4 separate regions of the Homo sapiens genome follow, and all the other regions are linked to region 4. The links are contacts of gene promoters, found by promoter capture Hi-C in human tissues and cell types (Jung and others, 2019). All regions are on one chromosome and are shown on one strand. The core of a region is centred on a gene start or on the middle of the fragment in contact, and the rest is flanking DNA. Distances in the headings are between cores, read along the strand shown. Region 1 has its middle 24 kb from the start of LINC00595. Region 2 has its middle 9.9 kb from the start of RPS24. Region 3 has its middle 42 kb from the start of LINC00856. Region 4 holds the start of PPIF (peptidylprolyl isomerase F).

The links. The method cuts DNA at HindIII sites, captures the fragments that hold promoters and counts their contacts. A contact is called where the count stands out against the background at its distance.
Region 1: a fragment that was not itself captured here is called in contact with the fragment with the promoter of PPIF in region 4 in 2 of the 25 tissues and cell types used here (H1 embryonic stem cells and heart right ventricle).
Region 2: a contact is called between a fragment that was not itself captured here and the fragment with the promoter of PPIF in region 4, in 1 of the 25 tissues and cell types used here (dorsolateral prefrontal cortex).
Region 3: a contact is called between a fragment that was not itself captured here and the fragment with the promoter of PPIF in region 4, in 1 of the 25 tissues and cell types used here (dorsolateral prefrontal cortex).

Annotation. Positions count from the first base shown.
Region 1 is chr10:78,290,268-78,293,285 of GRCh38, reverse strand. No RefSeq gene overlaps it. Among named protein-coding and RNA genes, the nearest start is that of LINC00595, 24 kb to the right of the region's middle. RefSeq lists an enhancer at 1-622. The HindIII fragment of the contact is 9,221 bases long and covers 1-3,018 here.
Region 2 is chr10:78,042,293-78,045,186 of GRCh38, reverse strand. It overlaps a transcript of RPS24 not described here. Among named protein-coding and RNA genes, the nearest start is that of RPS24, 9.9 kb to the right of the region's middle. RefSeq lists an enhancer at 2,447-2,556. The HindIII fragment of the contact is 6,274 bases long and covers 1-2,894 here.
Region 3 is chr10:78,205,484-78,208,226 of GRCh38, reverse strand. No RefSeq gene overlaps it. Among named protein-coding and RNA genes, the nearest start is that of LINC00856, 42 kb to the left of the region's middle. The HindIII fragment of the contact is 8,951 bases long and covers 1-2,743 here.
Region 4 is chr10:79,345,879-79,349,005 of GRCh38, reverse strand. PPIF (peptidylprolyl isomerase F) reads right to left here and starts at 1,537. Exons shown (of 6, transcript NM_005729.4): 1 at 1,263-1,537. The coding sequence starts at 1,457. RefSeq lists cis regulatory regions at 556-1,056, 739-1,239, 768-1,268, 1,271-1,793, 1,261-1,793 and 5 more and silencers at 1,104-1,333, 1,354-1,763. The HindIII fragment of the contact is 10,018 bases long and covers 1-2,559 here.

The sequences.
Region 1 (3,018 bases), core at 256-2,755, 1.1 Mb after region 4:
CACAGGGGACCATGGGCTGGGTGCTGAGCTTGGCCCTGCCAGGGCTTTCTAAAGGGAGCTTCCCCTCATCCCCTCTCCGTGGACAGAGCAGGACAAAGTGGCCCCCATTGCACCCTGGGGGCTGGCAAGGACCCTACAGCAGCCAGCAGCTGGGTCTATCAACCTGAGAGAGCCTCTGCCCCCAGGGAGGCTCCTAATTTAATCAGCTTCACAAATCAGCTCGATGGGCTTAATTGATCTTTTTCACTCCTAATATTGTCGCTGTCACTTTCTGAGTTGTGCCTCCCCCAGCCACCCCCTATGTCAGCCAGCTGGAGAGGGAAAAGGAGCCCAGAGGCCACAGTGGGAGGGAGCTGTGGACAAGAGGGTGAGGAGGGCAGGGAGAGTGAGGGAGGACTCAGACTGACACCTCAAGCCAGACTTTGGGGACTGCGAAATGCCATGGTGGGAGTGAAGAGCAGAAGGGCTTCTAGAGATTAACCTGGCTGGGGCATTAAGCGCATCATTCTAGGGCTCTCCGGGGCTCCACTTCCTCATCTATAAAGATCACAGCAGTACTCTGCCTCTCCAGATCCATTCAATCTCCATGCATTTGTTGAACACCTACTATATTCCAGACATGGTGCTAGCTAGACACAGGGAACGATGGTTAGCAAAAATAAACCTGTCCCAGACCCCATCGGGCACTCTAAGACAGGCTGTCCTCCCCTAGGTGACATCCCCATGGAGCACAGACTAGTGGGGGGTCTGCCATCAGTGGAATAAGTACTTGAGCACATGTCAAAGTGCAGCAGTGAGAAACGCTATAAAGGGGAAGTCCCTGGTGCTGTGTGGGTGGATACTGGGTGAGGGTCGGGGTGGGGAGGGCCAGGGAGGGCTCATGGAGGAAGCGGTGCCTGAGTTGAGATTGAAAGAATGAGGTCAGGCTGGGCGCAGTGGCTCACGCCTGTGATCCCAGCACTTTGAGGCCTAAGCAGGTGGATCACCTGAAGTCAGGAGTTTGAGACCAGCCTGGCCAACATGATGAAACCCTGTCTCTACTAAAAATATTTTTTAAAAATTAGCTGGGCATGGTGGCAGGTGCCTGTAATCCCAGCTACTGGGGAGGCTGAGGCGGGAGAATCACTTGAACCCGGTAGGCAGAGGTTGCAGTTAGCTGAGATCGTGCCATTGCACTCCAGCCTGGGCAACAAGAGTGAAACTCTTTCTCAAAAAAAAAAAAAAAGAAAGAAAAGAAAAAAAGAAAGAAAGAAAGAATGGTCAAGTTATCTAAATGAAGAGGCAGGAACAACATTCCAGGCAAAAGCCCTGTGTCTTTAACTAAAGCTGAAAGGGGCTTAAAGCTGACCATGTGGCTGTGAGCTAAGAGGAAAGGGGTGTGGGCTGCATGAGCTTAGATCAGGAGCTCCTATATGACTGAATTCCCACATTTTTTATGATGCCCTATGGTAAGAAACACATTTTGCTTGCTGACCCGGAACGTAGAACACACACATGTGCATACATGTGTAATTACCTGCATACATCCACTTCAAAAAGACTGATGAAGCAGTTATTCTTGCCACATTAAATGTGACCTCTCTGAGAGTTTCTATTCTATTTCTATTCTAGCTCATTCTATGTCTTTGCTTTAAGGTCACAAGCCATGACATTGATTTCTCAGCCCCCTGATAGCTCATGGCTGCTGGTTAAGAGGCCGTGTGCTTGGTAGGGTCTGGTGGGCTGCATTCAGGAACTATGTCCTTACCCCACAAGCAATGGGAAGCACCGGTTCTCTGAGACACTCTAATGAGACTTGCCTGCTGAGGTCACCCTGGCTGCTGCCAGGGGGAGTCATTTGGAGGGGCGGAAGGGGAGTCAGGGGACCAGGGAGGAGGCTGCTGCAGTAGCCAACCCAGAGATGGGGGCAGCTTAGAGCTAACTGGTTTGCAAAGCCATTCAGGTAACAGGTATGAAAAACTGTGCCAACTAGAACAATGTTTTATGAAAAGCTGCCCAATGGCACTGCAAGATTGCCATATCTAGATTCAGGCAACCCAGGTACCAAGACCAGCCGCATCATTTCCCACTTGTAATCTTGGAAAAATCACTTTGCCCCAGTGGGTCTCACTTTCCTAACTGTAAAATGTAATGTAAGAGTCCCTATCCCTTAGAGGCATTGCCGGATTAGATATAATGCAACGTGCTTGGCCAAATGTCTGGCCTGTAGCAAGCACTAGATAAATCTTAGTTATTAATATGGATGGACATGTTAGAACTCATTCAGTCTTCAACGGATTCAGTGCCCATTCAGTGCCAGGTGTGGAAGAGATGATGGGGAATAAAGTCACACAGCCCCTGTTCTGCATTCCTGGTCCAGGGGGCATTTCTAGAACCATAATAGATTTATTTTGGTCAAAACTGATTTTTAATCTGACAGCTGCCAAGCTCACCTGGCTATGCTCTCCCATTTACAAGGTGCTCTCTCATTACAACTGGCCCAGACCAGTTAAGGTTCCTTTTAAACAGGTTGCACCTTCATGCAAACACTTACCTAGTGCCTGTTGCCTGAGCTCAATTTATGCTTGCAGAGTAACGTGACCATTCTGGTGTATCTGGTTTGTCTATGCCATATCTCCTAAACATGCAGCGCTCCCTCTCCTCCTTCCCCTCAGAAGCTTCTGAGGGGCAGAGTTGTGGGGAGGCCAGAGCGACAGCAGGCTGTGCAGCCAGGAGCCGGCACAACAGAGCAGGCTGTCTGCTCCCTGCAAGCCAAGCTGGAGCTGGCAGATGGGGATCAGGGCTGGGACCTTCCTGACAATGATCATCGCCACTGCTGAGGCTCAGTAAAATGGCCAGGAGCAGGTGGGTGCAAGGTCTGTACTACCCACCCTTGGGTTGGGCTCTGGGCACCTCGTCCAGGTGCAGAGGGAAGGCTTGGCCTTCACCCCAGCACCCTCTCTGCCGCCACAGACTCACCAGCCCCAATTTCTGAGTCATGCGCTGATTGACCATTAGGGGACTGACTCTCTCGAGGTC
Region 2 (2,894 bases), core at 242-2,741, 1.3 Mb after region 4:
GAAAAACTCCGTCTCTACTACAAAATACAAAATTAGCCAGGTATGGTGGCACATGCCTGTAATCCCAGCTACTCGGGAAGCTGAGGCAGAGAATTGCTTGAACCCAGGAGGCGGAGGTTGCAGTGAGCTGAGGTCGTGCCATTGCACTCCAGCCGGGGCAACAAGAGTGAAACTCCATCTCAAAAAAATACGATAAATACTTGGATGCCATCTCATCGACCCATAACCTTCTACATAAATTCCCTCTCCAATATGCATGATGAGCAGCCAGAGCGTTGCCAAAGTATTTCCTGTGTGGAGGAACTCGGCATGTGAAAAGAACACACAATCCACTGCAGAACATCTAATTCTCCAACGTTTTATTTTCTTTAACCAAAACACTGAACAAGTGAAATCCTTAGCTTGGCATACAAGATCCTCCCTGATTTATTCTCCGCTGACCTCTCCAGCTTCGTTTCTTACCAGGACCTCACCTGTACCCTCTCATCCAGACTGTGGGCACTGGGAGGCAGGTCTCATTTCTGCCTCCCCTCAACATCTGGCATGCGGGAAGTTCAAGGGTGAGTGGATGGGGAAGGACAGTTGGATTAATGTATGGAGGTGTGTTCACAAAGCTCTAAAACCCAGGAGAGCCTCTCTGCCAGCACAAATGAGTCAGGTGTCATACTTCTGTGCTCTAGCAGCCAACCTGAAGACTATTTTTGAAATGGAGTATCTCCCACCAGAAATGCATTGTGCAAAACTCTGCTCAAAGGCATCAGTCATGTAGGGCCTTCCATCTTGTTGATTCAAGAGAATGCCTACCTACCCACTCTGCTCCCACCTCCCCAGTGTCATCCTCTCTTCCCCTTGCAGAATGACTGGTCTCACCTTGTCCCACACTGCCTGCTCCCATCTCCCTGCTTTCTTTCCTATTTTTCATGGCCTCAAATGAGAACTTTCTCCTGTGCATCCAAATCAGATCATGTCTCTTGCCACTGCTGGTGTTACAGTAATCCTCCCTTATCCATGGGGCAAACGTTCTTAGACCCCCAGTGGATGCCTGAAACCGCAAACCCTATCTACACCAAGTTTGTTGCTATATATACATAATTAAAGTTCATAATTTAGGGAGTAAGATATTAATAATTATACTGTAGTAGGCTGCATGAACTCTTTTCCTCTGAATACGTACATGTATTCACATTCTTGATGGGAGATAAAATGCCTATGTGGAAGGGAGAGGGAGGTAAATGACGTAGGCATGGTGACGTGTTAGGCTACTATTGACCTTCTGATGACACTTCAAGAGGATCATCACTTTTGGGTGATCCCAGACCATTTAGCCATGATAATTTTCCAGACTGCAGTTGACCGACAGCAACTGAAACTAGATAGGTGGGGACTGCTGTATGTCTCCTGGAAGCCTTCCAAGACCCAGCCTCCCTGCACTGATCTTCTTGGCTCTCAATTTCTATCACGTCACAGTCATACACTATCTGCTACTTCACAGAAAGGAACAGAAGCCAGATCATGGGATCGTCATTAACTACCTCAGAGCTTTCAAGACAGAACAGCTTCTTTATCCCCAACTTGCAGAACAGGGACACAGCAGGTGGTCAGTAAATTGGGAATTTGGCTAGCCATCTAACACTTGTTCAATAAACCCATGGCAACTGGCACCCTGCTGGCAGTCATGAGTTTTATATACCATTATATGCACAGTGCAAAGTAGCTTAATACTGGAGTGCCTGAAAAAATGCAGTGTTTTGGAGTCAGATGACTGCATTCCAATCCCATCCCCACCACTTCATGGGTGAGACACTGGTAAGATGCTTAACTGCTCTACACCCTTTCCAGCGTGGGTCCAGGAAGACATGCTTCTTGGAGTTAACATGCAGATTAGGCCGGGCACGGTGGCTCACACCTGTAATCCCAGCACTTTGGGAGGCCAAGGCAGGCGGATCACAAGGTCAGGAGATCGAGACCATCCTGGCTAACATGGTGAAACCCCATCTCTACTAAAAATACAAAAAATTACCCGGGCATGGTGGCGGGCACCTGTAGTCCCAGCTACTTGGGAGGCTGAGGCAGGAGAATGGCGTGAACCCGTGAGGCAGAGCTTGCAGTGAGCCAAGATTCTGCCACTGCACTCCAGCCTGGGTGACAGTGAGACTCCATCTCAAAAAAAATATGTGTGTATGTGTGTGCGCGCGCAGATTAATGGAGATCGTTGTTCAGAGTTTAGGACAGCACCTGTTTCGGCTCCATGAGAGCACCATGTAAGATGCTGTCTTTAAGGGCAGCCTAAAATAAGCAACTTGCCAGGGAAGAAAGGAAGAGTGCAGAGTTGAAAGCTGCCTGATTACATAGGCACATCCAGCTACAAACAGAACTCATGGTTGTGGTGCTAGGAAAAGCTAAAAAGCAGCACCCCAAATATTCACTGCAGGTACCTTCCCAGAACCACCTCTAGCTGAGTTTCTCATCACTCTTCAAAGATCCCTGCTCTCTCTAAGCCACAGCTTCCCATCAGTGACAAGCTGAAGGAAGGGATGTGCTCCCTCAATATTGATTCAGCTTAGTAAAGTCAAGTTTGCATTTTATGGAGGCTCTTCCAAAGCCTGCTGACAGCACAGGGTAGCCTGGTTACTGTGAGGGCCTACAATGTGCTGAATCTGTCCACAGTTTGAGTTCCCACAAGTCCCTGCTTCCTGACAAACAATTGCTTAGCACTAGTTTCCAAACTGTTTTCACAGTTGTTACATCCTCAGCCTCAAAATAGCCTTGTGAGCCAGGGTAGCTAGCAGATACCCTTGGGAGCCCAATTTAAAAGACAAATTAACCCTAACAAGGTACCAGGTGACTTCCCCAAAAAACACTTGGATGGACTAGATGGAAGAGAAGCAGGCAGC
Region 3 (2,743 bases), core at 49-2,548, 1.1 Mb after region 4:
TGGGCAGAGCCAGGGAATTGGCATTTCTAGCAAGCTCTTAGGTGATGCTGATGCTGCCAGCCCACAAACCTGGCTTTGAGTAGCACTGATGTCGGAGATCTATGTTATTACCACCATCGCCACCCCACCATTGCAGAGGAGGAAGCTGGGGCCCAGGGGGGCAGGAAGTAGGACAAACAGCATCAGCAGCACAACCTCCTGGGCCTTCCTCCCATGCCCACTCTGGGAGACCCATCCTTTCCCAAGACATTGCTGGCAGGCTCCAGACTCCCAGCAAGGAAGATGTGTGAGTCAGCCCATTTACCCAGTTTTTGTTCAATTAATTTCAAGAGGTATTAAAAAGGAAAACTTTCGTAAAGAAAGGAAAAGCCTGTTCATTTTCATGGCCAGCACTTGGAGAAACAGTTCTTCTGGAGCCTAGGCAATCGTTTGTAGAGTCTATTATAAAGGGAAACCTAAATCACATTTATGGCTCATACTGTAAGGCAAATGTAGGTATTAAAATTGTTCCTTTTAAATGATAAACACCCGCTGAAATGGTGCAATAGAGCTGCATCAGAGACTGTTTTCACCCAAAAGAAACTGACTCAGGAAAGGCAGTAAATAGGGAATTTGACTGCAGTCCCCATAACTGCTGTTTACTGTAAGGAGTGGGGAGGAGGGGCCATGGAGAAAAATTAGCGCGTGGAGACCATGTTTGTTTTTAGCCACTTTAGCAACTTAACTTTGCATGGCTCTGTCTTCTCCCAGATCTGAGTGCAACAATTTCTCCCCGAAAGGGACATGGCTCCTTGTGGGGTGGGTATTTTTGGTTTCTTCTAGCCTGGTTTCAGATAGCTGGGCTTTCGTTTTACTGTGCATATCACAATCGTTGTGGTTTTGCTTTTGAGAGAGAAGTAATAGAAAAAATAGTTAATCACCCATTCATAATCTCTTAAACATTATTTTTAAGCTGATAGTAGCAAAACAAAATGCAATCTTTCTAACATCTTCAAGCAATTACTTGTCATTTTTCTGGTTTTCATAATAAAAGGAAATTAGTTTGGGGGAGGTGGAGTGGGGGACAAACTCCTGACTTTGAGTTTTGGGAAGATGAAGAACAGACTTAGAGTAAATCCTACCCGGGTTTTCCTGATGAAAATGAAAGCAGGAGCCAAGCAAGGGCAAGGGGTGCAATTGGGGGATGGGGCTTCTCCTGGCCCTACCCCTGACAATATGATATAATTCAGAGCTGCCTCTGCCTGAAGAAATTTGGGGAACATACAGACCTCTCTCATCTACCCCAACAAAGCTCAATAAATGAAGAGTCACAGCCAGAGCCAAATTTAGGTCCTCTGAGCATCCGCCATGAGGGATGAATTCACCGTGAGGGGTGAATCTACGGATGGATGGATGGATGGGTGGGTGGATGGATGGATGGATGGATGGGTGGATGGGTGGATGGGTGGATGGGTGGATGGGTGGGTGGGTGGGTGGATGTGTGGATGGATGAGTGGGTAGATGGATGGGTGGGTGGGCGTATGGGTGGATGGGTGGGTGGGTGGGCATATGGGTGGATAGGTGGGTGGATGGGTGGATGGATGGATGAAAATAACCACTGTTTCTTGAGATTTCTTCCATGCTGAGTAAGACGTCTCAAAGTCTAAGTGTGGAAGAACCAGTTTGTTTCATTTCCAATCAGTTTATTTTCCAATTTGTTGGAAATGCTTTCATGAAATAAGCTAAAATGTCACCATCTTGTCAAGCTGCTGTACAAGTATTCTCACTCTCCATTTCTATTATGACCAGTCTGCGGATGGCACCAGTCCTGGGCCCCACTTGGAACAGAACTGTTCTCAGGCTGGCTGCTAGGCACATCACACACATTCATTCACCGTCTTGCAGTCACTCTCTCAGATGGGTGCTTTTATACCCACTTTCTGGATGGGAAACCTGAGGCTCAGGGAGAGTTTGTGAGTTGCCCAAATTCCAAAGCTGATGGCTATAGAGCTAAACTTTAAATTCAGATCTCTTGGGCTCCAAACCTGTATAGTTTCCTGATGCTGGGCTCTAGAACCAGTCTCAAAGGACATGTAGTGGAGGGATGCCCTCCCAGTTGGAACCTAGGGAGGGTTCCTCCAAGGCCTCGGGTCAGGAGCTAGGAGGGGAAGGAGATGCTTGGTGGAGGTCAGGCACCCAAAAAAACAGAAGCAGGAGTGCAGTGGGAGGTTCAGAGAGCCATGGGCCAAGCTAGAGCTGGGCAGGGAGAGGAGATGGAGGGAGCCTGGCCCTGTGGCTACTCTCTGGGGAAGCAGGGTGAGAAGCAGCCCTTGGCCCAGAGCAGAATGATGAGAAAAGTCGGCCACCCAGCTCTCTGCACCTTGATCTTCACTCTAGAGCCTGGGCTTCCCATTTTGTAGAGCAGTGACTGGCATTTTTTAAAAAATGTAAATCTGCCAGAAGACACTCCCATCAGGGTATTTCTTCCTTTAAAAGAGTTTAAGGGACTAGAGGGGTCAGAGCACTCTCATTTCCTGCTGAGCTGCTTCTGTGAAGCTTTGAACACCAAGGATGGAGGGCACAGGGCCGGATGTTCAGAGAGGCCCAGAATGAAAGGGAGGATCAGACAGGGCCATGCCAGCTGCCGTAGCTGGGCCTGGCCGTGCTCTCTGGGGCCGTGCTCTCTGGGGCAAGGCTCACTTGGAGGTACAGAGGCCTCAAACTAGGCCCACATACAGAATCAGGCCTGGGAAATGAGAGTTAA
Region 4 (3,127 bases), core at 288-2,787:
ACCCACCCACCCCCACAGTGGCCAAGGAGGCTAAGGAAGAAGCACGTGGACATTCCATTCCCATTATTGCCAACCCCCATGGGAGGCAGCTCTATCATTTCTGGGAGCCGTTTCCTGAACCCAAGGCTGGAGGAGGTGGCCTTGGTTTCCTAATCTGTCAGAAGAGATGACAATGCTATCTTGGCCTACTTCTGTGGACACAGCTGGCAGTGCTCCCACAGCTGGGCCCAAAGCATCAGAAATTCAGGGACAAGAGAGTGTGTCTAAGGTAGAAGCCAGACCAGCTCCTCCATTCGGGGTTGGGAAACTGAGGCCCAGGGAGAGGCATGAGGGTGTGGGGAGGGAAGGCTGAAGCCCCATCCCAGCCAGCCTCTACCCTCGAAGCTGCAAGACCCACCCTGGAACCAAATGGAAGCAGGAAGGGTGTCCCTATTTTCCAGAAGAAACTGAGAATGAAGAAGAAATACTAAGGGCTCCCTGGGATACGGGCCAGTCAACACAAACAGACCCCTGCTGTCAATGTGTGGCCGACCTGAAGGCTCCACTAGGGCTTTCCCTCTAAAGCTACCCTGGTGACTGTTTCTTACTTTGCTTTAGAAAAGACCCAAAAACAGAGTTAGGGGAGGTGCTCAGTGTGGCCCCCAAGGACAGTGGCAGGGGTTGAGGCGCCGGGCACACTGTCTCTGAGTGTGTCCCGACTCGCAGGAGGGGCATTCTGGGGTCCACCAGGTGGCCGGGGCCTGAGGCCTACTGGGCCCGCACTACTGCTGGAAACCACCTCTCGCTCCATTTCCCAGCACCCCCAGTGTGAGCCCGACCGCAGGGGCGGGGCCGGAGCCAGGAAGCGCTCCGTGTTGTGCAAGGGCCGCCACGTGAGCACCCGCTGGGCCACGACGCTCACCCCAAGACCCCCGACACCCACCTCGGAGCTCCGGATCTAGGCTCAGCCCCAGAAGGCTCCTGGAGCCCCTCCCTCGTGCCCGGGCCGGCCCAGAGGTGCTGAGCCCTCCCTCTCTGCGATCTGACCTTGAGCTTTCTCCTCCACACGTGCCCTCCCTCCCGTCTCCCCCGCTCCAGTGCTCCGAGGGAGGCCGGAAGAAATCATTCTGACGCCCATTCTCAGAAATGGGGAAACTGAGGCCCAGAGCTCGGCATGGGGAGGCCCAAGGTCACCCAGCGCGCCCGGCACCGCGCCGCCCGGGGCCCAGGGCTCTCCCCGGGCCCGTGTCCCGCGCCCAGGCCGGCCCTGCGAGCGGTCTCACCTCCAGCACCACGCGGCCGAGCGGCTTCCCGTTGGCGTCCACGTCCAGGTACACGAGCGGGTTCCCGGAGGAGGAGGAAGAGGACGGGTCGCCGGAGCCCTTGCTGCAGGCGCGGGCCGCGGGGAGGCGCAGCGGCACGGAGCGCGGGACGGAGAGCAGGCCGAGCCAGCGGGAGCCGCAGCGCAGCGCCAGCATCGCGGGCGCGGGTCGGGCGGGACACGGGCGGGGAGAACACAGAACTCAAACTGACGTCGCGCGCGCCCAGAAGGCCGAGTCCCGCGCAGCCGCGCGCCGCAGCCTTTATTGGCTTGCCCAGGTTCCCGGCCCTGCCCCCGTCCCGCCTCCTCCAGGCCTGTCCGTGGACTACCCCTGCCGGCCGCAGCGGGCAGCGCAGCCAGCCGGTGGGGCCGCGGAGCGTGAAGTGCTTTGAAACACTCCCGCCTCCAGGCCCAGAGACCCGGAGAACAGACACCTGGCAAAAGGTTGCTGGTTCCATGTTTATTAAGGTACCAGCAGATTTTTTTAAAAAAAGAAAAACTGCTAAAACGTAATTAATTCCAAAATATGAGCATCTATACGTTGCAATTTGAATATAATAGCAAAAGTCTACCTTTGAGCCCTTTGCAGGTAAGGCTCAGGCCAAATAAGCTTCCCTGCTGCCCTAGGTCCTGCAGTCTGAGAGGGTTAGAGAAAGGTGAGATGAGAGGCGGGATTAGTGAGCTAGAGGCGCAAGAGGGAGGAGATAAGCTGAGACACCTCCCATGATGCCCCCTAGCCTGCTTGTCCCGGCCTGGGCCTGTCTCTAGTTGTTTCTGGGGACCAGACCTGCTTCTAGCAAGACTGAAAACGCAGCCTGGGCTCATCATGCTCCTTTCAGGCCCCCAGCCCTCCCCAGGACTGGGTCTGATCCCTCCTCCTAGGACCCACACTGACAGCCCCGGGGCAGACTGCCAGCTGCCCCCTCCCATCAGCATGCACCCTGGGAGGGGACTCAGTGGGGAGACCCACAGCAGGAGCATTTAAACCCCACGTGCTGAAAGTGGGCTTCCCAGCAGCCAGAGCCACCCTCACTGCAAGGTGGTGGGAGGTCTGCAATAAATGGATGCCACGCAGGGACCTGAGAGAGCATCTGGCCCAACACTTGTACTGTCCCCAGGGGAAGCTGAGGCCTGGACACAGGAAGGCACTGGCTAGGGCTAGGGAGCCCTGGAGTATTGCTACCAGCTTGCACCAGTGCTCCAGGCCTCTCTGGGCCTCAGTTTCCCATCTGGAGGGTAAGGGTGCGATCATGCTCCTCATCCTGCTTTTTTCTCGTGTCTGTTCTTAGGATAAAATGAACGAGAGAGACATGGATTTGTCAACTAAGTACTGTGCCTGTGGGCATCTGTGATGGACAGAGTCTGGACTGTCTTTCTCACAGTTTGGGATTCAGAGAGCTGCGGTCTCAGTTAGAGGCCTGAGGGGTCAGAGAAAGGGGTGGGGCTGAGCCTTGGAGGCAGGTGGGCAGGAGTAGGGACCAGCTCTGGACTGACCTGCCCCAGATCCTGAATGGGCTCATGGGAACAGGTCAGGCAGCAAAATGCCAGCCAAGCAAATTCATGAGGTCAGAGCAGTGCCCTAGCTTCATAAGAATGCTAGCTTGGCCTCTGGAAGTTTGGCTAGCTTGGCTTCTGGAAGTTCATAGCCCCCTTCTCCGATTCCTGGCCTAGGAGGGGCCTAGGCACCCAGTGAAGCCCAGGTGGGATGCATTCCAGGTCCCAGCCCAGAATGGGGCCTCACTCTGCCCTGGGGAGCAGCCCCTCCTTTCTTATGATTGTGCCCTGAGGTGAGCAGGCCTGAGTGGGGAGCCCACTTGAGCCCTCAGC